Linked DNA regions of Homo sapiens: regions 1, 3, 4, 5 and 6 are each linked to region 2. The links are contacts of gene promoters, found by promoter capture Hi-C in blood cells and fetal thymus (Javierre and others, 2016). All regions are on one chromosome and are shown on one strand. The core of a region is centred on a gene start or on the middle of the fragment in contact, and the rest is flanking DNA. Distances in the headings are between cores, read along the strand shown. Region 1 has its middle 6.3 kb from the start of LINC02783. Region 2 holds the start of SDHB (succinate dehydrogenase complex iron sulfur subunit B). Region 3 has its middle 12 kb from the start of MIR3972. Region 4 overlaps PADI3 (peptidyl arginine deiminase 3). Region 5 overlaps PADI1 (peptidyl arginine deiminase 1). Region 6 holds the start of PADI4 (peptidyl arginine deiminase 4).

Region 1 (4,071 bases), core at 1,337-3,836, 130 kb after region 2:
CAATGGCAATTCCGAACTGAGCAGTAGAAAGGTCACATATGAAAACTCATGGACTCAACTAAAATTGTGCTTAGAAAGAAATGTATAGTCTTGAATGTTTACAGTAGGGACGAAGAATGGCAGAAAGTGAATGAACTAAGCGCCAAACTGGAGAATTTAGAAAAATAATGAAATTAACCCCCCAAAAGGAAAGATAAATGTAAAAGTGGGAATTGGTGAAAAAAATAGGACTAAAACAAAAATCCAAAAGTTGGTTCTTGGAAAAGATTAATTAAATGGATGAACTTTTGGCAAGGTTCAATGGGAAAAAGAGAAGTCTTAAATAAAGGAACTTAACAAGACAGGCACACAAGAGCGTAACCTTGTGTTACACTCAGGAAACGGAGAGAAGCCACCACAGGAAACGGAAGAAGCCACCTCTGTTTCTGGAGGAGACTGGTACCATCTCAGACCTACTAGCCCTTGGGGGACCCCAAGAGAGGGGACACCCATCTCCTGCAATATTTTGGGGAGCCAAGCTTGTACCTGCAAACACACAGAGCCCAGGCCTCCAGAAAAGTGTCTGCATCCTCCCTGAAGGAGCCCCAGGCCAGCAGCCCCTTCCTGTCACATTCCCCTCCTCCCCAGAGGTAGAAGGGCTGTCAATCTATCACAGCGCTGCAGCTGCACCGGCGTTTCCCAAAGTGGCTGCACCATTTACATTCCAACCAGCAGTGTATGAGGCTTCCAGCTTCTTCAACTCCTTGTCAACACTTGTTGTGGTCTGCCTTTTTGATTATAGTCATTCTAGTGAGTGTGAGGTAGTATCTCATTGCAGTTTTGATTTTCATTTCCCTACTGACTAATGGTATGGAGTATCTTTCATGGGCTTATTGGCCATTTGTATATCTTCTTTGGAGAACTATCTACCCAAATTCTTTGTCCACTTTGTAATCTTTTCATTGTTGAGTGATAAGCATTCTTTACATATTCTGGACACTAGAGCCTTATTGCATTCACAATTTGCAAATATCTTCTCCCCACTGGGGATGGTCTTTTCGCTTTCTTGATATTGTCCTTTGAAGCATCAAAATTTTAAATTTTATTTATTTATTTATTTATTTTTGAGACGGGGTCTCGCTCTGTTGCCCAGGCTGGAGTGCAGTGGCACGATTTCGGCTCACTGCAAGCTCCGCCTCCCAGGATCATGCCATTCCCCTGCCTCAGCCTCCTGAGTAGCTGGGACTACAGGCACCTGCCACCACTCCCGGCTAATTATTTGTATTTTTAGTAGAGACAGGGTTTCACAGTGTTAGCCGGGATGGTCTCGATCTCCTGACCTCATGATCCTCCTGCCTCAGCCCCACAAAGTGCTGGGATTACAGGCGTGAGCCACCGTGCCTGGCCCAAAGTTTTAAATTTCGATGAAGTCCAATTTATGCGTTTTTCCTTTAGTTGCTAAAATTAAATTTATGAGACTGACATGCTGCCTACTGCACTGAGGAAGCAACTTAAATTTAAATTAAAAGAATGTATATGCCAAGAAATGTGGAAATTTAGATAAAAATGACAAGTTTCTTGGAAAATCTAACTTATCCACACAACCCGTGTGGTGTTCTGATAAATATTTAACAATTGGCTTTCCAAACCAACCAACCTAATGCCGCACACATAAAAGCCCCTTTCGTGTAGTGCTAACCAGTTTCCATGGTGTAAATACTCCCACCATGGCCAGTGTGACATCCCTGAGTGTGGTGTTGGGAAGAGATGTGCATTATCTGCTCTCCAGAGCCAGCCTCCAGTGCGTCACTGAGCTGTAACACAAGAAATGGAGAACCCAAATCATTCTATAACCATAAAACAAGCGGAATCAGTGGCCCAGCCCTCAGTCCTGCACCCATAATCTTCAAGGCTTGCCATGACTTTCTGCAAGAGGGACCACCAGGCCACCCTCCACTCTGGTAGAGTTGCTGATGTGGCAACCAGTGAAGAATGCCATCAGCAAAGTCCCACTGGAGAGGCCCAGCCCAGTAGGTCATACCCAGTCCCGGTCCAGCTCTCTTCCCCTCCTCTGCCCCTCCTGCTGAGCAAAGGTTCTGCCTGAACCTTTGGATCTAACCAGGCACATGTAGACCCACGTATCACAGGATGTCAGTGACCAGCTCCTAGCAATGAAGGCTCAGAAAGGTCCAGCAAGATGCCCAAGGTCACACAGCAGGCCATGGCAGAGTTCAGCTGGAGCCCAAGCCTCAGAACTCCCATCCCAGCCTTGAACTGTGAAACTAGAGTCTGGCCCATGAATCCTCTTTAGCTGAGCCCTTGGGCCCCCCATGCAGGCCTGAGTGGGCCTGGGGATCTCAATGGGCTTGAATGTGTCCCAAGGCCAGGTCTGCCTATGCCTGTCCCATCACTTCTCCCCAGGGAGTTCAGGGAGCCCCACAGCCGGGGCTACAACTGAGGGCACAGCCAGCTCTGAACCATGGACAGAGCCTAGCCCCTGCAAGTCAGGGGTTGAGGTGACAGGATGCTCTGGGCGCTCCCTGGAGGAGGCGGGCATCGCCTGAGGCCCTTCTGGAGGCTGCTAACACAGTGGGGAAATCAAGCGTGCGCTTTGGAAGCAGACCGAGCCAGGCTGGCATCCCAGGTTCCCACGTGGTGCTGCGTGACCTCGGGCAAAGTGTCTCAACATCTGGAATCTCCTTTTTTTCCTCATAAAGATGCCTGGTCTCACAACCGTTAAGACTTGAATGAGGTAATGTTATGTTCAAGTGCTCTGCTCTGGGCTGGCACAGGGTTGGTGGCCCATAAACAGTAAGTTCCACTCCTTCCCTAGTGGGAGCAGCTTAGCTGTCTCAGCAGAGCCCTTTCCCCTGCTTGGGGATCCTGGTGGCTGGTGGGGGTGGGGACAGGGAGGAGGGGTGGTACAAACCTCTACAGAGTGCATACATTTTAAGTGTAGAGCTCTGGGCCAGATGCCATGGCCAGGTCCTGGGTTAGCCTCCTCAAAGGATGCCATAGGGGCGGATACAGAGCCAGGAGGACAGCCCCACAAAGGGCAGCCCCCTAGGCCAGGCACCGTGGCTCACATCTGTAATCCCAGCACTTTGGGAGGCCGAAGCGGACAGATCACCTGAGGTCAGGAGTTCGAGACCAGCCTAGACAACGTGGTGAAATCCCATCTCTACTAACAATACAAAAATTAGCCAGGCGTGGTGGTGGGTGCCTGTAATTCCAGCTACTTGGAAGGCTGAGGCACAAGAATCGCTTGAACCCGGGAGGTGGAGTTTGCAGTGAGCTGAGATCATGCCACTGCACTCCAGCCTGGGAGGCCTTGGGACTTGGTTGGTGACTGGAGCCAGAGACTCCATCTCAAAAAACAAAACAAAACAAAACAAAACAAAAACAAAGGGCAGCCCCCCAGAAACCCGAATACAGAAGACCTATCCGACATCCTGACCTGTCCCCACAAGGACAGCTGGAGGGGAAGTGCTGCTCCACGTGGCTCCAGTGCTGCAGAGAGCCCTGGCCAGGGATTGGGAGCCAGTGTTGGTGACCTTGGGCAGGTCGCCACCCTTCTCTGTTCCTCACCATTCCCATCTGTAAAAGGCAAGGGTTGGACCAATTCATCCCCTGGGTCCCTTCTGGCTCTGACCTTTGGGGATTCCCAGCCTGCTCCCAGCCTTGACTTTCAGAGAAGCTATGGACTGGCCAGGGCTGCCCCTTGGCAAGTGTTTCCTTTGGCTCATGCAGAAGCTGTGCCCCAGGCTCGCTAGTCCAGACCAATAAGCCAGGCTCATAAACGCCTGGCGGGGCAGCCGGTCTCCTTCACATAAAAGTCATTTTCCAAACAGGATTGAGAAAGGCCAGCTCCGGACAGGCCATCTCGGGGGCACTGGAGCAGAGAGTGCCCGATTGCCTGAGCCTTCCTGGCCAGCTCCCCCTGTCATCTGCCTCGTCTTGGTGCCTATCTCCCTCCCGCTTACCCTCTGGAGATAAACTGGGGCATGAGTCCTGCCTCCTATGTGGCCTTGGTCCTGTCACGTCTCCTTCTGGGCCTCAGTTTCCCTATCTGTCAAACAGGGAGGCCCATCC
Region 2 (4,224 bases), core at 1,419-3,918:
AATTCTGAATGGTGCTGAAGGCTGGTTGTTGTTCCTCCAGTAAAGTGTCCTTAGGGTGCAGGCTTGGAGTTGGATGGAGTGGATAAAGATTTGGAGGCCAGAGAAGAAGGTGGGGAAATAGAGAGGAAGAAAGCAAAAAGGACTGTATGAAGATAAGCCTGAGTAAAATACAAGGTGCAGGCTTGCTGAAAAGTGTGATTGGTGATGCTTGAAATCCAAGCTCTATCACTTACAAGCTGTGTATTCTTCTGCAAATTATTAGCTTTTCGGATTCTATTTCTTCCTTTGTAAAGGGTGGGTAGTATTAATATCTGCCTCATAAGATAACCCGGGGGAGGGGGGGTCAAGTTTCTAGCATAGCCCAGAAAAAAATTTTTGCTCTACAAGATTGGCAACCTTATCAGTCTTTGTATTATTCTGATTTGTAAATAGGTATCCTAGCCCTGCCAGCCTAAGGAACAAGATGCACATTTTTTAAATTTTTTTTTTTTTTTTGAGACTGAGTTTCGCTCTTGTCGCCCAGGATGGAGTGCAATGGTGCGATTTCAGCTCACTGCACCCTCCACCTCCCAGGTTCAAGCAATTCTCCTGCCTCAGCCTCCTGTGTAGCTAGGATTATAGGCGCCCACCACCACGCCCAGCTAATTTTTTTTTTATTTTTTTAGTAGAGACGGGGTTTCACCATGTTGGCCGGGCTGGTCTTGAACTCCTGACCTCAGGTGATCCACCCACCTTGGCCTCCCAAAGTGCTGGAATTACAGGCATGAGCCACTGCACCTGGCAAGATACACACTTTTAAGTAGGTAGTTCTTGTCCTAAAGGAGTTCATAGTCCAGATGAAGAAATAAGGCAACACAAACAATAGTTAATATACTACAGTCAAATACTTACAGGCAGAATTGTGGTTCAGTGGTCAGACTATAAGCATAAAAAGAATTCAGAACCTGAACCTGAATGTTACCCACAGGTAACACACCAAGCTCATTACTGAATTCTTTTGAGGTGGCTTTTGTGGGTATACATGTACATTCCCACAAGGAAGGGGAGGCCTTGGGGCTCTTCTATTTTCTGTTGCCCTCAGGAGGCCCTGCAAAGACCTTGCCTGGAATTACAAAAATGACCTATGAAATTAGCCTTTTCTACAATGCATTCTTAGAAGAGGGGCTTGGAACTCTCTCGTTAGTGGGGCTCTCACAATTTAATTGTTTGCTCAGCAACTATAAAAGGAACAGGTAAACAAGCTCATTATCAATCATCAATTTAATACTGAGAGGATGTCAGCTTGAGGCTCTGGTAGGCTGTCTTCTTCCTCTATCTCCCCTTTTCAGAAAGGCTGATGCAGACAGAGTGGATCCAAGTTCACACACAGCATGCTGGATAGAACCAGGATTGGAACATGGGCAATATGTACTGTGTTATGCAGCCATAGCAGGCACTTAAGATGAAAGATGTCCTCATTTAAGTGCAAGAGAGGAAGAGGAACTAAAATTTCTTGGACACCAACCATGTCCCAAGATCTATGCTAAGGAGTTTTTCTGGTACCATGTTAAAAAACTGCCTCAGGTCTGCTTCTTGGGAATGTGATATTTTGAGCAAGCCAAAAATTTTCTTTCTGGGGGCCTCAAGTTTTCAAAGCTCCAAAAAGGAGGGTAAGGATTCTTGCTTGCCCACCTTAAAGGGGTTGTTGAGAATCCCAGAAGAGGAACAGACTTAGAAAGGATTTGCAAATCCTTAGTCCCTTATGTATACAAAAGCAATTTCCCTTCCCCTTCTAAATGTTCCCACTTAGAAGGCAGGTCAGAAATGTGTTGTTTCTTGGCCATACAAGGGGCGTGGGAAAATCTGTTACTGCACACGGCATAGTAATAAACAAGAACAGCGCCAAGCCCTCTACCTGTCATTCCATGTCAACTCTATGAGGTCCGTATTATTATATGACCTTTAGAGTCAGAAACACTGAGAGGATACTAGTGAAACTGTGGTGACACTGCTTTAAGGAACCCAGTCTTTCCTGCAACCCCCACCACCCACCTCCGGGATCCTTCGAGGTAGGGGGCTGGGTGCATTTCCCTCCATCTCTCCCTTCCCCTGCCCTGTCCCCAACAATTCACATGTCCTTTCCTCACCCATCCCGGTCCTCAACCTCGCACCCTTGAGGAATTACCTCGCTTCCCAATTCCCATCCTTCACACCCCGCAGGTCTCCCTTTTCTACAGAGGCGATAGTTTGGTGGCAGAAAAAGGGCTTGGAACTCCAATGTCTGGATTCAAATTCTGGTTCCAGCAGTCATTCGCTTGCCATGTGACCTTGAGCAATTCAAGTCCCCTTTCTGAACGTCCCCCCCCCCCGCACCCTTAGCTGTAAAAAATTGCCCGTGCCCTAACTCACAAGCTGCTGCGAGGCGCAGAAAGATAACTTGACAGGGATGCTCGAAGCCAAACCAAAGCACTGCACCAGGGGGAGGAGGTCCTCCATCTCCCTGAGGCCTTGCCCTATGCTTCCTCAGTCTCTCCGCAGCCCCATCAGCTCCAGGCAGTCTCTGTGGCTTTCCTGACTTTTCCCTCTCTGAGGCTCCAGGACTCACCTGCAGGCAGGCTCCGCCAAGGGTTGTGGCCGGCAACCGGCGCCTCAAGGAGAGGGCGACCACCGCCGCCATCTTGGCTCCTGACGTCAGCCCCACCCCTTAACCCCGAGGTCGCTCTCCGCCGGTGTCCCGTCGAACATCGCGGCGCCCAGCCTACATCCACTGAGGACCCACTAGCCGCGTACGAGCAACCAAGTGGGAGGCGGCTTCCGGTTTCCCGGGTGGGCGGAGGGAAGGCGGGGCAAGCACAGCGAGCGTGCGCAATAGCGCAGTAGCGGCGCATGCCCATTTGGCTTCCCCCGTGACCTTCTCAGAAAGGGGAGGAGTCTGAGAGGCAGGGCGACTTTCAGGGGGTGGGGCTAAGACTTAGATGGGGCGGAGCCATCCTATCCGGGTCCCTGCCCCGATTTCAACCTCTTTATTCCTGGAATTTTTGTTTGTTTGTTTGAGATGGAGTCTCGCACTGTTTCCCGGGCTGGAGTGCAATGGCGCGATCTTGGCTCACTGCAACCTCCGCCTCCCGGGTTCACGCGATTCTCCTGCCTCAGCCTCCCGAGTAGCTGGGATTACAGGCGCACACCATCACACCCGGCTAATTTTTTGTATTTTTAGTAGAGACGGGGTTTCATCATCTTGGCCAGACTGGTCTTGAACTCCTGACCTCGTGATCCGCCCACCTTGGCCTCCCAAAGTGCTGGAATTACAGGCATGAGCCACTGCGCCCGGCCAATTTTTTTTTTTTTTTTCAGACAGGGTCTCACTCTGTTGCCCAGGCCGGTGTGCAGTCTTGGCTCACTGCAGCCTCGACTTCCCAGGCTCAAGCGATCCTCCCACCTCCAGAGTAGCTGGGACTACAGGCGTGTGAGCCACCATACCCGGGTAGTTTTTTTTTTTTTCTTTTTTTTGAGATGGAGTATCGCTCTGTCTCCCAGGCTGGAGTGCAGTGGCGCGATCTCGGCTGACTGCAACCTCCGCCTCCCGGGTTCAAGCAATTCCCTGCCTCAGCCTCCCGAGTAGCTGGGATTATAGGCGTCCGCCATCATGCCCGGCTAATTTTTTTGTGTTTTTAGTAGAGATGGGGTTTCACCATCTTGGCCAGGCTGGTCTTGAACTCCTGACCTCGTGAGCCACCCACCTCGGCCTCCCAAAGTACTGGAATTACAGGCATGAGCCACCGCGCCCGGCCACCCGGATAATTTTTTTAAAAAATTATTTGTAGAGATGGAGTCTGGCTATGTTGCCCAGGCTGGGCTCAAGCAATCATCCTGCTCCAACTTCCCAAAGTGCTGGGATTACAGGCGTGAGCCACCACACCTAGCCTCCCTAAGAATTTGTCAGTCTTATTATTCATCTCTGACGCTTACTGGCTTGAGTCAGCCCTTTCTGTCGCATACCGTGCAGCTTGCCCGAGGCTGCCCAGGTTTCTGCACTGAGAGTCCCAAACAAACTGGGCAGTTGGTGAATGAGCTGAGGTGATTTCAAGGGTGGCTGGCAAAGGTGCCATTCTTTTGTTCGTTCATTCATTCATTCATAAATACGAATGGAGTGGCTACTATGTGGCAGGCACCAAGTGCTGGGATGCTGCAGGGAATGAGCAAGCCAGGTGGTCACTGCTCATTGAATTTACTCTCTAGTGGTGG
Region 3 (3,769 bases), core at 1,267-3,766, 240 kb after region 2:
AGCTGCAGGGCTTCCGCAGGCATTGCCCAACTCTGTGGCCTCCTGCGGCTTCCAGCAGCCCAGGAAGGAGGGCCCTGGGTGAGGATGGCTGGAAAGGAATTCTGGATGGCTGGACAGAGTCCATGGGACCTATCACTTCCTACAAAGTCACTGTCATCCCAAGTCCCCTCCAGCATAATGACGGCAAGTGCAAGCATTGTGCCAGCAGGTACTGAATGCTTCCTGAGCACCATCTGATATAGCCCTCACAGCATGCCAGCAGGCAGCTATTACTATTGTTCTCACTTTATAGACAGGGAAACTGAGGCACAGCCACATGAAAGCGCTTGCCCTGGTCACAGAGCTATTAAGTGGGGGAAACAAATTTGAGCCTAGACACGTGACCTCTGTACCCAGTCACACCAGTGGTTCTCAACCCATCTACACATTAGAATCACCTGGAAGGCTCTCATGAAAACCTAGCAGGGCCAGGCCCCCACCATCAGAGATTCTGTCTGGACATTGGGATGTTACACAAAGCAACTCGGTGACTCAGGTGTGTAGCCAGGACACAGCAACACTTTGGAAGGCCAGGCGGGCAGACCACCTGAGGTCAGGAGTTCAAGACCAGCCTGGCCAACATGCTGAAACCCCGTCTTTACTAAAAATACAAAAATTTGGCTGGGCGTGGTGGCTCACGCCTGTAATCCCAGCACTTTGGGAGGCCGAGGTGGGCGGATCACGAGATCAGGAGATCAACACCATCCTGGCTAACATGGTGAAACCCCATCTCTACTAAAAATACAAAAAATTAGCTGGGCGTGGTTGCACGTGCCTGTGGTCCCAGCTACTCTGGAGGCTGAGGCAGGAGAATTGCTTGAACCTGGGAGGCAGAGGTTGCAGTGAGCTGAGATCGTGCCACTGCACTCCAGCCTGGTGATGAAGCGAGATTCCGTCTCAAAAAAAAAAATTAGCTGGGTGTGGTGGCTCGCACCTGTAATCCCAGCTAGTTGGGAGACTGAAGCAGGAGAATCTCTTGAACCAGGGAGGCAGAGGTTGCAGTGAGCCGAGATCGCACCACTGTACTCCAGCTTGGGTGAGACAGAGCAAGATTCCATCTCAAAATAATAATAATAAAGAAAGCTCTGCATGGGGAAAAGCTTAGCATGAAATTTTGGGGTGAGGGATGGGAGCAGGGAGACAAGTCAGAAGGTGGCAGCTAGTTCAGCCGAAGAGAAGCCACCACATTCAATTCACTCTTTGTGGGGAAACCGGAAGGGACGGGCTTACTGGACAGGACGTGGGGAACAGGGAAAAGGCAGGGACAAGAGTCCCTCCCAGAGTTTGAGATTTATTTACTCATTGATTTATTATGAAGTAAATCATTAATACAAGACAAGTTTTTTATAATGTTTCTGAATGACTAAAAGAATAATTATGGAATGAAAACCTGTATACTCTGGCTGGGCGTGGTGGCTCACACCTGTAATCCCAGCACTTTGGGAGGCCAAGGCGGGTGGATCACAAGGTCAGGAGATCGAGATCATCCTGGCTAACGCGGTGAAATCCCATTTCTACTAAAAACACAAAAAATTAGTCGGGCGTGGTGGCTCATGCCTGTAGTCCCAGCTACTCAGGAGGCTGAGGCAGGAGAATGGTGTGAACCCAGGAGGCGGAGCTTGCAGCGAGCTGAGATCGCGCCACTGCACTCCAGCCTGGGTGACAGAGTGAGACTCCATCTAAAAAAACAAAACCAAACAAAAGCCTGGCTACAGCAAAGCTTTGGTAACAAAGCAGGTACGTGTATCCCCCATTTGCCCACCATGATGGGCCAGTGGCCACTCCCCCAGGACTCACAGATGAGTCAAAGCAGTGGGCAAGTTTTTTCGAGGCTTCGGGCAAGAAAAGGGCTGGGATCCCTCTTCCCCCAAGTGCTTCCCCCCAGTTCTGGGCCCCACGCCTGGGTCTCCTGGTTCACAGCATTTTATTGTTATGTTGGTGGTGAGGATTTGAGATGGTTCCTGATAGGATGTCAGGGGGCAAGGGTCTCCTTCCGAGTTCCTGGAAAGGAATGCACACTCAGAAACCCAGGCTGAACGTTGCCGGTGTGGGTGCTTGGTGGATGTGTCTGTCCTGGACCAGCAGATGGAAACTAACTACCGCTCAGCTGGCTCTCTGAAGCAATGCTGTCTTTCAAGAGCTGGAAGCCAGCACCAAAGCTAGCTCCATAGTTTCTTTTTTGAACTCTTCTTGGGTCTTTAAATAAGTCTTGGCATTCTGAGAAACTGCATCTCAATGCCAATTATCTTAACTCAAAACATCTCAATCACAGAAATTATAGCTGCCTTGGGCAGTTTCCAGTGCTCCAGCAAGCAGGGACCTGAGCAGGGCTGGGCAGGGCATCATTCAGAAGTGTTTATGTGACTAACGCTCCCCAGGAGTCTACTGGACAGCTCAATCAGCACATTTACTTACTGGTGTTTTTTTTTTTTTTAATTCCTTTGCCAAATTCCTCTAGGGATTTGAGGCAACATATATTAAGAGTACATTCAACAAACTGATGATTTAAAAAAATTTTTTACATTAAGACACCAAGGCCAGACACGGTGGCTCATGCCTGTAAGCCCAGCACCTTGGGAGGCTAAGGCAGGTGGATCAGTTAAGGTCAGGAGTTTGAGACGGGCCTGGCAAACATGGTGAAACCCCATTCTACTAAAAATACAAAAATTAGCCGGGTGTGGTGGCGGGCGCCTGTAATCCCAGCTATTCAGGAGGCTGAGGCAGGAGAATCGCTGAAACCCAGGATAGGTTATCTTGAAATAATAATAATAATAATAATAATACACCAAAACAGAAAAAAAAATCCAGAAAATAAAACCCATGGAAAAGGACAAACAAATATATGACCATGAGAACCAAACTATCATTAGGATTGGAGCTTCCCAGTAGCCCTTGCAAGAAGGGAACCAGAGTCAACCACCTAATTCTCATTATCAGAAGGAAGGCAGCATGCCAAAATGATTCCCGTCATACATGGACCTTTATAAAGGGACGTGGAGTGGTCAGTGTGCTCAACCACCTTGCAAGAGCAAATTCTACATTTGCTCTTAGCCAAAAGGCCAAGAAGCAGTTGCAAGACCAAATTTAATGGGAGATTTCCTATGGTTGAGCCTCCATTTGCTCATCTGTAAAATGGGAATAATGCTTACCTTCACGGGTTGTTTGAGGACTACAGCAGTACCTGGCAGACAGCAAGAACCTAACAAGTGTTTATTTCTTCATTTTCTATCCCCAGCAAGCTTAGGGCCTTCTTCATCCTCTCCAGGGTAGCTACTTAATCCTCACACCTATTTTACATGGGCACAATTTTCCCTACTATGTGTCCAGCTCAGCAGCAGATTCTGGGGATACAGCAGTGGGTGAGCAGATATGGAATCTGCCTTTAGGAAGCTCATAGGTTAGTAGAGAAGCAGGGCAAACGGAGAGTAGCAACAATGTATGGTAAGTACAATTGTAAAGCCATAATAATAACTGTAAGAGCTTCTGTTTTGTAGCACGTAACCTGAGTTTGCTAGCTGTGCTTGACAAGAACAGAATGAGAAAGAAAACCTACGAACATAACAATAAACCCATAAATGCAAAAATTCTAAACAAAACTATTAGCAAACTCAATTCAAAAATGATACAATATCAGATTATACAATATCAGATCAGAATAAATTGATCCCAGGAATGCATGTTTCATCTTAGAAAATCAATTCAACAGGTTAATAGATCAAAGAAAAAATTT
Region 4 (3,944 bases), core at 1,116-3,615, 210 kb after region 2:
AGAAACAGGTGTGTCTGTCCCTCCCAACTGGTGAGGACACCTGACAGGGGCCCAGACACCAGAGTGGGACCTGCCTGATGGAGAGAAGCTTGGGCTTGGTTTATTTCCCTTTTCATAAAAAAGCTGCTTTGAGATGTAAGAGAATCATGTTGGTGGAAGAGTGAAGAGGTTGTTTTGGGGGAGGTCTGCCTTACTCTGAGGGAAGATGGGAAGCGGGGGGAGTGGCCAGCTGTGGAAATTTGGGGTAGTCCCCTACGTATCCTGTGCCTCAGTTTCCCCATGTGTAAACAGGAGTAATTATCTCATCCTGGGGCTGCAGTGAGGATCAGATGAGCTAATGTACAAAAAGGCTTAGGCAGGCCTGCCGTGATAAGAGTGCAGAGGCTGGGGGCTTTTTATGTTATGGTATTGTTGTTATTATTACTCCTGGGGAGGTGGTGGGCAAGAGTGTGGACTGAGGAGCCACATGGCTGGGTTTGGATCCCAGCCCGGCCACAGACCTTGGGCAAGTTACTTAACCTCGGCTTTCTCATCTGTATAATGGGAGACAATAATAGATAGTGCCTCCCTTCTAGGGTTATTGAGAGGATTGCATGATGGGCTGGCACACAGCATGAGCTCAGTAAGTGTCAGTCACTGTTATCCCCCAGGGGCATGCATGCCGCTGCCTCCAGGAGGCCCTCCAACTCGCAGTGGCCTCTCCCTACATGGGTTCCCACTGAGCTGTGATCCTGTGGCCTTGAGCCCCATCTGGCTGCCCTGGACAATGTTGGTCCTCAGCTCCCCAGCGGGATCAACAGTGGGGAGAGCAGTGGGTGGATCTGCCCGCCAGGCAGTACCTGAGTGCACAGTGGGCACCCCACAGTCAAAGGATGCATAGTCTGGTTTCCAAGGAGGAACCCCAGGCTAGGTGGAATGAGGGAAATGCAATCTCAGGGCCAGATAACATCACAGATACTTTAAACCTGCAATTAATTTCTGGTTGTTTGACCAAATCCGGCCAAGTTTCCCGGGTGACACTGCAGAGCTGTGGAACAGCATGGGCTTGGAGTCAGACCTGTTGCACATCTGGCTCTGCCATGTGATGCAACCTCAGGCTTGTCACGAGGCCTCCTTGAGCCTCAGTTGCTAATATGCCAAATGGGGATGATATTGCTCACCTTACAGCTTGTAAGAGTGGAGGGAGCTGCGTGCGCCAGGTGCCTGGCATGCAGCGGGCACTCAACCAGATTGAATTCCCTTCCCAGGGAAGAATTCAAGGATATCTTCCCACCCACTAAGGAGACATGTGATGGGATCTGGGGTGAGAATTGCTCTTTTTAAAGCTCTCAGAACTGTAAGGGGCTCCACCCACCAATGGCTGGTGTTCACTGAGCTCTTCGTGCCCAGACCTGCACTGGGGATTTATCGAGCACATGGCTGGCTTCTGACTTCCGAAGAGCTCGCCATTCTGGTGAGTGGTAAAGAAACTCACAAGGGAAATGTTAATGAACACAGGGGCTTAGAACATCAGACTGTGTGTATGTTTTTTTGTTTTGTTTTGAAACAGGGTCTTGCTCTGTCGCCCAGGCTGGAGTGCAGTGGTGCAATCTTGGCTCACTGCAACCTCTGCCTCCTGGGTTCAAGCGATTCTCCTGCCTCAGCCTCCCCAGTAGCTGGGATTACAGGCATATGCTACCACGCCTGGCTATTTTCTTGTATTTTTAGTAGAGACAGGGTTTCACCATGTTGGCCAGGCTCGACCTCAAGTGATCCGCCCGCCTCGGCTTCCCAAAGTGCCTGACCTCAAGTGATCCATCCGCCTCGGCTTCCCAAAGTGCTGGGATTAAAGGAGTGAGTCACCACGCCCGGCCGACTGTGTATATGTTTGTGTGGGGTCCAGGCTTGACTCGCAGGAGCTTACTGTGAGGATCTGAGGGGACTGGGTGGCCAAGGAAAGCTTCCTGGAGGAAGCAGGGCTTGAGCCAAAGCTCAAACATCTGAGCAAAATATATCTCCTTCGGCACCGACCATGGCTCTCTGCCCTGCCCAGGTCAGTGCCTGAGGGCACAGAAATGTTTGAGGTCTATGGGACGCCTGGCGTGGACATCTACATCTCTCCCAACATGGAGAGGGGCCGGGAGCGTGCAGACACCAGGCGGTGGCGCTTTGACGCGACTTTGGAGATCATCGTGGTCATGAACTCCCCCAGCAATGACCTCAACGACAGCCATGTGAGCTGGTCCCTGGTGGGGTGGGGAGAGGTTTCGAGGGAGGCAGCTGTCTAGCTCTAGGAGGGCCCAACATTCTCTTTCTCCAGAGCGCAGGGCAACACAGTGGGTAAGTGCCTGGCCTTGGAGCCATACTGCTGATTTTGAATCCCAGCTCTGCAAGTTACAGACACATACCATGTGTCCTTGGAAAGCCTTATCATCCCCTTGGGGCCTCTGTCTGCCATCTGTAAAATGGGATAATCATAACCCCTGTCTCCTATCATTGCTGTGGAGTGCCATAGGAGCCAGTGTTGCTCCTTCTCTTGCTTCCCAAGACCCCCTGGAGAAGGAGTTGTCCCAGTTCTGCTGAGTTGGGTCTCAGTTTCCCCACATGTAGGCTGAGGGTTGACTAGGGGATCTCTGCCACTTTGAATGAAAGAGAGAAAGCAGGGACAGGGGAGGGACACCGGTGCCTGGGAAGACCCCCTTCCTAGGTGACAGCATTTCCCCAAGGCGCTTTGCTGTCCGTAATCCACTCTCTTCCTGACCCTATTTGCAGGGTAGGGGACATTTAACACATGGGAGAAATGGGTGGCCTTTAAGCTTGGCACAGGTGATGTTTGCTTCGAGGGCTGATAGGGACCAGGACTTGGAGTGTGGGAGTAGTGGGATCCACTCCATGTCAGGAGCGATGTTTCAGAAACTGGCCCTTTAAGGAGCACTGACCACGTGCCAGGTACTGGGCAGCCATGACCTCATCCAGCCCTCACAGCAGCCCAGAGAGGTGGGGGACTGATGCCCATTTCGCAGATGGGGCAACTGAGGTTCAGAGTAACTGTCCCGGGACCGCACACTAATGGTCAGGAGAGCTAGAATTCAGTGCAGACCCCTGGGGGCAGTCTCCCTCCATCACCCCCACCTCTGTTCCCAGCCATGCATCCATGAGGCACTTGGGGCAGGACCCAATGAACCCATTTAATAGGCAAGAAAACTAAGAAGGAGAAGGGGTGGCTTTCCTGAAGTCACATGATCTAGCGAGCGGCAGAGCTGGTGAGAGTCAGGACAGAGTCCCAGGGGTAGTGCAAGAGGACTGGCCAGCCTGTGAGGGGCCCCACCTTGGTGCCGGTTGAAGTGGCGATGGTGTGGGTACCCCCACCTTGAATTCCTTGGCCATGATGGCTGGTGGGATGGAGGAAGTTCAGAGTCTCTCCCACTCTTTCCCTCACCCGCCATATACCCCTGCTCCCTATCCTGCCTTTGGCCAGGATCCCAGTAATTGTATGTTTGAGGCAAGCATCACTGCTGGTGATTGACACATGGAGGTCAGTAATTGCAGGATTTAGGGGCTCCCAGGACTACAGAGGTGAGTGGCCCCTGCAAGATCCTCCCCTCTGGCTGAGATTCGGACATGAGAAGCAGAGAGTTGAGACACCCATGTCAGGAGGGAATACCCCAAGGGGAGGGTCATGCTTTAAAGGGAACTTGGATGCCTTGGATTCATCTGCCTCCAACTAAATATCATCCACGCCATCTTCATCCTCACCCTGTAACAGTTCTTGAGTGCTCGCTGTGGGCCGGGCACCGAGCTGCATGTGCCCCATACATGACTCCTTTCATCTTCACAGCCTCTAATTAGTCCTAAGGGGTAGGAACTATTATTATCCCCACTTTACAGTTGAGGAAATTGAGGCCCAGAGAAGATCAGTAACTTTTCCTGGGATATTCAAAAGTGGGGGATTCAGAATCTGGGCC
Region 5 (3,748 bases), core at 111-2,610, 160 kb after region 2:
GGACTGTGGGGAGAGAGGGGAAGCAGGTCACTGGCCTATGATAAAAATCCACATGGAAGCAACTGGTGGCTTGGACAGGATGTGAGCTGTGGCAGAGGTGAGAGCGGTCAGGGTCTGCAGTTGCTATGAAGGTGGAGCTGATGGGATTTGCTGAGGGGCTGGCTGTGCGAGTGAGGGAACAAGAGGAGGTGAGGCTGAATTGGAAGGTGGAGCTGCTATGGACAGACTTGCGGTGGGTTGGGCAGGAGCAGGTTTGAAAGGAGTGGGGAAGGAGTGGGCATGGGGAAGCAGGAGTTTGGCTTTGGATGTGTGAAATTTAAAATGCTTGGTAGGGCTGGGCGCAGTGGCTCACGCCTGTAATCCCAGCACTGTGGGAGGCCGAGGTTGGCAGATCACTTGAGGTCGGGAGTTCAAGACCAGCCTGGCCAACATGGCGAAACCCCATCTCTACTAAAAATACAAAAATTAGCTGGCGTGGTGGTGAGCTCCTGTAATCCCAGCTACTTGGGAGGCTGAGGCAGGAGAATCGCTTGAACCCAGGAGGCAGAGGTTGCAGTGAGCTGAGATCATGCCTTTGCACTCCAGCCTGGGTGACAGAGCACGACGTTGTCTCAAAAAATAAAAAATAAATAAAATAAAATGCCTGGTAGACACCCAGGGAGAAACTCAGAAAGCAAGAAGTCTGAGAGTTCTAACCATATTGATGTGGCAGGTGGAGAAAACCAAGGGAGTGGGTGTAGACAGAAGAAAGGAGGAGAGGAGAGGGGAGGGAGGGGAGGAGAGGAGGAGAGGGGAGGGAGGGGAGGAGAGGAGGAGAGGGGAGGCTGAGCCCTAAGCCAGGTGCGCTGGGGCCAGCCGCACTCTGAAGAGTACCAGTGTAGGGATTCTGCCCGTTGCCGATGGTGCCTATTCCAATTACACATTTCAGAACTTGTTGGGGTGGGGCGGAACCACACATGGGCTCAGGGGCTACTGGACCCACTGTAAGATGAACCTGAGCTGAAACTCCATGGATCACCTGGCCTCCATGAGCCCCTGCTCTGCCAGGTGGGCCGCAGTGTTGTTTAGGGTCTCCTAGACCAGTTCAGGGCCGGTGTGCAGGAGAACTAGAAATGTACGATTATTTCCTTTTCCCCAGTGACAGTCACCCTGGTAAAAAGTTGTGTGTCCTCTCGGGGAAGGCTGGGAGAAAGTTGAACAGTGTGTTTGTGGCAATGTACCAGGGTCCTTCCTCAAGGAGATCTGATTGTTTAATTTTTAAGAAGGTTATGAACCCCTTGTTAAACACAGCCACTATTTAAAATTAAATATACACACAATTAAGCAAATTATATTAAAAACAAAGGCAGTAGTACTGAAAACTCATCACTGCTTAATTATTTTACTGCATTTTACCATTGTCCAGATATAGTGGAAATAGTGATGTCACGAGGTGCTATTATGCAGCTCTTTGAAACTCTGAGTCCAATGATGTTGGGCTGGTAACTTGAAACTGGCTAGAGTGGGAGTGTTTACACCACAGACATTGGTCAAGGCTACAAATCAGGGCTTCATTCATCGTTTTATCAAATGCCTAGAGTTCAGAAAGTGATGGAGACAGGTTAACAATGTCAACTCAATTTAAAAGTGTATTGCGTCTATAGCCATGACATTGTGGTTAGTACCAAAAATTGATGAAATGTTCCTCCAGGATTATCTGATTCAGCAAAGAGGTTGCTCATATCCTAGATGAATGAATGAAGGGTGACATGCATCTTCATTGTTTCCCCTTTCATCTTATTCGTGAATGCCAACAAAAATATCAACCAACGTTTACGTCACATATCAGATTTAGTGACAATAAACTTATGGAGGAAAGAATGAGCAGATTGGGATGCAATTGCATTGGTCAAATCATGGTCAAATTGCAACCACAGGTTGGCTACAGTTGCAAGAGAGGGCATCTGGAGGAATCAATGTACTATATAGAATTTACAACACATTTTACAATAAAGAATTATATGTATTATACTATTATTTTTACATTATGTGCTACACACTATTTACATCAGTAAAATTTATAATAAATTTATATATACATATATATGCATAAGAACCCCCCCACTCCAGAGAGCTGGTTGTTAAACATTTGCCAGCACACCACTGCCTGGAGTTAGGGGGTAAGGGGGAGTGACACAGCAAAGGCATTAGAGGAAAGGCCACGGAGTCAGAGGAGAGCAAGCAGAGCCCGTGTCCCAGCTGCCAAGTGGGAAAGTGTTTCAAAGACAGGTGATCATCTGGGCCAAGTGCCTCTGACAGGTCAATGAGGGGAAGAAGAGAAAAGACCCACTGGGTTTGGCAACAGTGGAGTTTCCTTGGTGTGGTGGGAGGAAAGGCTGATTAGAGGCAGGTTGCAGACGCAAAGAGAAGAAATAATTGGAGGTGTCAAGGGAGCAGAAGAAATGAGGAGGTCAAAGGAGAATGAGTTTGGGGATGGGTGATATTCACGTCTGTGTGCTGGGTGCAAGGGAGGGGAGAAGGGGCAAGGCCAGTGATGCCCTTGAGTAGGGGATGTGCCCCAGGAGGGCTGGTCTTGGGCAAGAGCCCAGACAGCACACCCCTCTTCCCAGGAGGGCAGGCATGGTCGTGGACTCAAAGGCAGGAGGGCTGGGAGATGAGGTGGTGGGAGGAGGGAGGTTGAAGGCTCTGAGTGACAAGGGGGAAGAGTGGGGAGGCTTCTGGAGATAGGAGAAGATAGGACATAGTCCTCTAGGACACTGAAAGAGAAAAGAGCCTGGAGCAATGCTGTAGGAGCACGAGCATGTCACGCATCCATTGAGGTCAGCAGTCATGAGTCCAAGTGAACCATGGTCAGCCGCGTGGTGCAGGTGCAGAGGGGGTGGAGAGTTGGATCTGATTGTATAGCTGGAGCTCTGCCAGGCAGCTCAAGGGAGGGAAGGATGAGCAAAAGATTAGGGAGTGGAGCAAGGGGGTGGCCGCAGCGGGGGACTATGGGATCTATGGGACTATCCTGGGGAAGGGAAGAGGGAACATGAGGGATGAGGGACAGCAGTGGGGGGCGAGTAGAGAGGACTCAGCCTTCAAAGGTCAAGCGTCCCAGTGGGCTGAAGGTTTGGTTGCACTGGTGTGTTAGGAGTGAGCTGGAATATTGGGAAGCGGTGTCCGAGTGGGTTGCTAACAGGGGAGCTTGTAGTGGGTGCAGTTTTTTGATAATAACATTCTATAGCACCTGCCCCGTGAAGGAGGGGATGAGGCCAGGTGGAGGACAGGAGCATTGGATGAGAGGTCAAGGGACTGAGGGACCAGGGTGCAGCACACCATCTACATCGCCATTGAAGTATAAACTGGTGACGGCAGCCGGCTGAGGAACATGGCAGGAGCTGGCACCCTCGAGATGAGGACAGAGCGATGGTGTGCAAAGGTGTCCCTGTAGATGGGTGGTGTAGTCTGGAAATGTCAATGCAAAGCTGGGGGTTTACGGAGTGAAGAAAGATGATGATCTGGAAGGGACATTGAGGAGCATGAAGGACCCTTGCCCACCTCCAGGCCCAGGGGCTGGAGGGAGTAAGGGGGAAGCAGTCACCAGGGAGATGGCTGAAGGGGAGGCCATGCCTGCTATTGGGGGCAGGCTTCTTTTACAGTACAAGATCAAGGAAACTGTCCAGGGTGGGACTGAGGATATCGTGCAGATGATGGTGGCTGGGATTGAAAGGGAGTTGGGGAGGATGAGGAAGGGGGTCAGATGAGA
Region 6 (3,723 bases), core at 785-3,284, 250 kb after region 2:
TACTGCATTTATTGCTTACTGGCTGTCTCTCTCCCAACAAAAACAAACAAACAAAAAGGCTCTATGAAGGCAGGATTTTTGTCCACTTTGTTCACAGCGTATCCACGGTGCCTGGAACAGTGCCTGGCCATCAATAGGCACTCAGTCAGTATTTGTTGAATTAACAAAACTGCTTTGGGGCTCGTCCTCTTTGTGGCTCGTTCACAGCAAATTTAAACCCCAAACTGCTGAAGAAAATAAGAAAGAAAAGAAGGAACAGAAGAAAACAACCTCAAGAGACCTAAGACTTGGGGTAGAGGCCAGCCCTCCCTCTGATTTGCTGTGTGACCGTGGGCAGGTCCCACTCCCTTTCTGTGCTTCAGTCTCCCCTTCTGCAAAACGAGGACTGGATTGGGTGTTCTCTAAGGGCCCTCCCAACTCTAACAATGGACAGCTCCCTCCTGCCACTTCCCAGTAGAAGCTCAAACTAGTTCTAATCATGCGGTCAGCCAGAGAAATTGGGTTTATTAACACTGTGTGCAGGCAGTCATGTAGATGCGTCAGAACGTCGGACCTGGCCACATCATCATCTGCTGGTACAGAAGATAAATTTTGAGCCCAGAGAAGGTGGTCTGAATCCAGATCCCCACTGTAGGGCTTATGAGACCTTGGGGGTCTCACTCAATCTCTCTAAGTCTTTGTGGTCTCATCTACACATGGGCATCCTGATAGGACGCACTCCATAGGGATGTTGAGATGAGGCAGGATTTGAACTAAAGCCTGTTTGATCCCACAGCCTGACTCTGAATTAATGAGGCAAATTCTTTGCTTCAAAGCCAAAGCAAGCAAACAAAAAACAAACGCAAGATATCCAACCCACGAAACGCTCTATGTTCACGCCAGACTCCCATGCATGCACCCTTTGAGTGCTCCTTGTTGGGACCCATCCACCACCCCCCAGTTGCCTCATTAAAGGCAGAGCCTGGCACCAATGGCCCAGGTGCAACCACAGCTCTGAGGCCACATGGGCATCCCCCTGGCAGGCGTGGCCCACACCTGCACTGTCTGGTCTGACACCCAGAGGCCCTGGCAAGAGGCAGGTATCCTGGAGCATGCAGAGAACATCAACTTCCATGCCAGGAAGCTCATCTTCTCTTCCCAGCTCTGCCGCATTCTAGCTCTGGCACCTTGGGCAAGAGCTAGTCACTTTTACTCTCTGAGCCTCAATTTTCCTTCTGTAAAATGGGTTGTAATAATAAGCCCATATACACCTTGTATTGTAGCGAGATGTAGCTGTGATACAGTCTGGAAAGCACGTGTCATATAGACAGGCAGCTAATGAATCTCACACTCTGGAACTGGACACCTTTGGTTCCAATTCTGGCCCTACCACTCTCGAGCTGTGGAAGAACTGCACCTCTGTTTTCTCCTCTGTAAAATGGGTATAATAATGGCACCAACCTCAGAGGGCTGCTGTGAGGGTGAAATAAGGGGATAATGGTATGATCTAGTTCACGGGTTTGTCGTAATGAGCTATTCTATGTGAAGTGCAGGAAAACGTGCCTGGCATAGAGAATGTGAGCTGTCATGTGGGTGGCCCAGGTGGAGAGACTTGTCCCAAGCCTGGTTGGTCTTTGAACGTGTAGCCTGGCCTGTGACTGCTTACCTAAAATCTCCCCGCTTTTCCCACCTTCTCCTCTCTGATATGCCTGTTTGACATAGGTGAGATTGGATAGATCAAGGTGTTCAGGGCCTCTAGGCAGGGATGGGACTGTGGGCATGAGGACCAGGACCCAACCCCTCAGCCCCACTCTCCACCCCAGGCTTTCTGAGCCATCCATCCTTCCCAAGAAACTGACAGAGCCACCCTGCCACTGGTACCAGCATTGACACCCATCTAGAGGTCCGAGGGGCAGCCCCAGGGCAGAGGAGATTTTGAGAGCCCACACCCCTGACCTGAGTGGGGAGGGGTTGAGCCTCTGGGCCACAGACCGCAGGTGCTGACTCATGGCCTCTGCTGGGCGATATAAAGGAACCAGCCCAGGGGCTTCCTACAGCCAGAGGGACGAGCTAGCCCGACGATGGCCCAGGGGACATTGATCCGTGTGACCCCAGAGCAGCCCACCCATGCCGTGTGTGTGCTGGGCACCTTGACTCAGCTTGACATCTGCAGGTAAGAGGGGGGCCTTCTGGGGTTTTGGAGGCAGGTCAGGAGATGCTGGATGACCCAGTTCTACTGACACAGGAGCATGTGTTTGGCCCAGGCTCTAGGCTCCAGCCTCTGCAGCCACTGCCAGGGGAGTAGCTGGAGAGAGAAGACCCCAGCAGCCCTGGGAAGTGCCAGTCTCATGGCTGTGGGTTCTTTGCCATGTACAAGTGCAAATTCCCCAGGAACACACGACAGATAAATTATTATGGGGCAAACCAGGCCATCCATCTCCCTGTCTTCATCGAGGCAACAGAAGCTTACAGAGAGTCTGTGACTTGCTCAAGGTCACACAGCACGTGTGCCCTGGAAGTAAGGTTAGCCCCTGGGCCTCCTGGTTCACAGCACAGTTTGTTACCCCACATCTCTTAGCTAAGCCTCCCTCAGTGGGTGCATAATAGCGTGGGTGGGGATGGCGAAACGGGGCTCTGTGGCGGCAGAGACTGAGGTAGGAAGCCTGGACCTGCTGCTGGCTAGCAAGGAGGCCTTGGGCAACTGAGCCTCAGTTGCCTCATCTGTGAAATGGGGATAATACTCACATCATGGGCTGGTTATAGGAATTCAATGTGAAAAAATGTGCAGATGTTGGCTGAGTACTTAGCACAGTGGTGGGCCCATCCTTGGTAGTTTTTATTTACTCATTTAACAAATGCTGAGTGCCATGCTCTGTGGCAGGGTCTGGGTTAAACAAGAGAGTTGAGGAATGCTCTCGGGGAGTGTGCAGGGTCATTGTTGTTATTGTAGAACAGGAATTAAAAGAAATTTTAAAACGTGTAAGCAAAAACTCAGTTCTATGTTAAAAAAAAAAAAAACAATTTTCCCTGGAAAAAAAAAAAAAAAAGAGCTGGAGTCCCTTAAAAATTAACTGCCTGTTTTTTTGTGGCTAGTGAGCCTTATTGCTCCTCTTTTTCCAGGCATTGTAAAGACCCTGTTTCTCCAGCTGTGCAGCTGCAAGGTCACTAGACAGATAAACTCAAGCTGTAAAAATTTTTTTCCTTAAAAAGTAAAAAATAATATAATGCATGTCTCAATTAAATAACTGTCTTTGTTTCTTGCCTCTATAATATGCTTCCCCCTGCACAGATCTACCCCCGCCCCATGAAATGCTTAAAAGATAACTTAACTCTTTGTTCAGGGCTCAGTCTTTTGAAATGTTAGCCTGACTGAGCCAGTGAATCTAAATAATAAATCCTCCTCAACCCCTCGGTCTCTCTGATTCCTAAATTATCCTGCAACAATTGCTGTTGTCAGGAATAGGAGTGGTTGCCCCTGGCTTCCCCATCCCAGTCTGGGCATCGGTGGCCCTAGAATGGTGCCCACAGGAGTGCCGGGGACATTTCTTTGCTACTGCCTGAGCCCCAGCAGCCAGAGAACAGCAGGAAATGTCGGGATGGTCTCCCAGGGCCACATGGTGGAGGCAGGAGACCAAGAAGTTGGGGAGAAAAGGAAAAAGAAAATCACCTGACATCATCTGAGGCGCCCCCAACTCCTCTGAGAATGGGTGTGAAGGAAATGACAGGAGCTGAAGCTAGCCCAGG

What was found. Contacts are between HindIII fragments. The CHiCAGO score rates a contact against its expected background, and 5 or more counts as called.
Region 1: a fragment that was not itself captured here is called in contact with the fragment with the promoter of SDHB in region 2 in 1 of 17 cell types (neutrophils); the score reaches 6.7 in neutrophils.
Region 3: a fragment that was not itself captured here is called in contact with the fragment with the promoter of SDHB in region 2 in 7 of 17 cell types (neutrophils, endothelial precursors, monocytes and 4 more); the score reaches 12.8 in neutrophils.
Region 4: a contact is called between a fragment that was not itself captured here and the fragment with the promoter of SDHB in region 2, in 8 of 17 cell types (neutrophils, M0 macrophages, megakaryocytes and 5 more). The highest score is 16.0, in neutrophils.
Region 5: a fragment that was not itself captured here is called in contact with the fragment with the promoter of SDHB in region 2 in 4 of 17 cell types (neutrophils, monocytes, M2 macrophages and 1 more); the score reaches 9.1 in neutrophils.
Region 6: the fragment with the promoter of PADI4 here is called in contact with the fragment with the promoter of SDHB in region 2 in 5 of 17 cell types (neutrophils, monocytes, megakaryocytes and 2 more); the score reaches 19.9 in neutrophils.

The regions. Positions count from the first base shown.
Region 1 is chr1:17,181,491-17,185,561 of GRCh38, forward strand. No RefSeq gene overlaps it. Among named protein-coding and RNA genes, the nearest start is that of LINC02783, 6.3 kb to the right of the region's middle. The HindIII fragment of the contact is 4,141 bases long and covers 517-4,071 here.
Region 2 is chr1:17,051,364-17,055,587 of GRCh38, forward strand. It overlaps SDHB (succinate dehydrogenase complex iron sulfur subunit B), which reads right to left and starts at 2,669. Exons shown (of 8, transcript NM_003000.3): 1 at 2,585-2,669. The coding sequence starts at 2,656. RefSeq lists enhancers at 2,549-2,608, 3,159-3,208. The HindIII fragment of the contact is 17,146 bases long and covers 1-4,224 here.
Region 3 is chr1:17,287,604-17,291,372 of GRCh38, forward strand. No RefSeq gene overlaps it. Among named protein-coding and RNA genes, the nearest start is that of MIR3972, 12 kb to the left of the region's middle. The HindIII fragment of the contact is 1,519 bases long and covers 1,758-3,276 here.
Region 4 is chr1:17,257,546-17,261,489 of GRCh38, forward strand. It overlaps PADI3 (peptidyl arginine deiminase 3), which reads left to right. Exons shown (of 16, transcript NM_016233.2): 2 at 2,033-2,213. Among named protein-coding and RNA genes, the nearest start is that of PADI3, 10 kb to the left of the region's middle. RefSeq lists enhancers at 1,489-1,990, 1,991-2,490. The HindIII fragment of the contact is 856 bases long and covers 1,938-2,793 here.
Region 5 is chr1:17,216,257-17,220,004 of GRCh38, forward strand. All of the region lies in intron 1 of PADI1 (peptidyl arginine deiminase 1), which reads left to right. Among named protein-coding and RNA genes, the nearest start is that of PADI1, 13 kb to the left of the region's middle. The HindIII fragment of the contact is 9,935 bases long and covers 1-3,748 here.
Region 6 is chr1:17,306,163-17,309,885 of GRCh38, forward strand. It overlaps PADI4 (peptidyl arginine deiminase 4), which reads left to right and starts at 2,035. Exons shown (of 16, transcript NM_012387.3): 1 at 2,035-2,152. The coding sequence starts at 2,061. The HindIII fragment of the contact is 10,543 bases long and covers 1-2,442 here.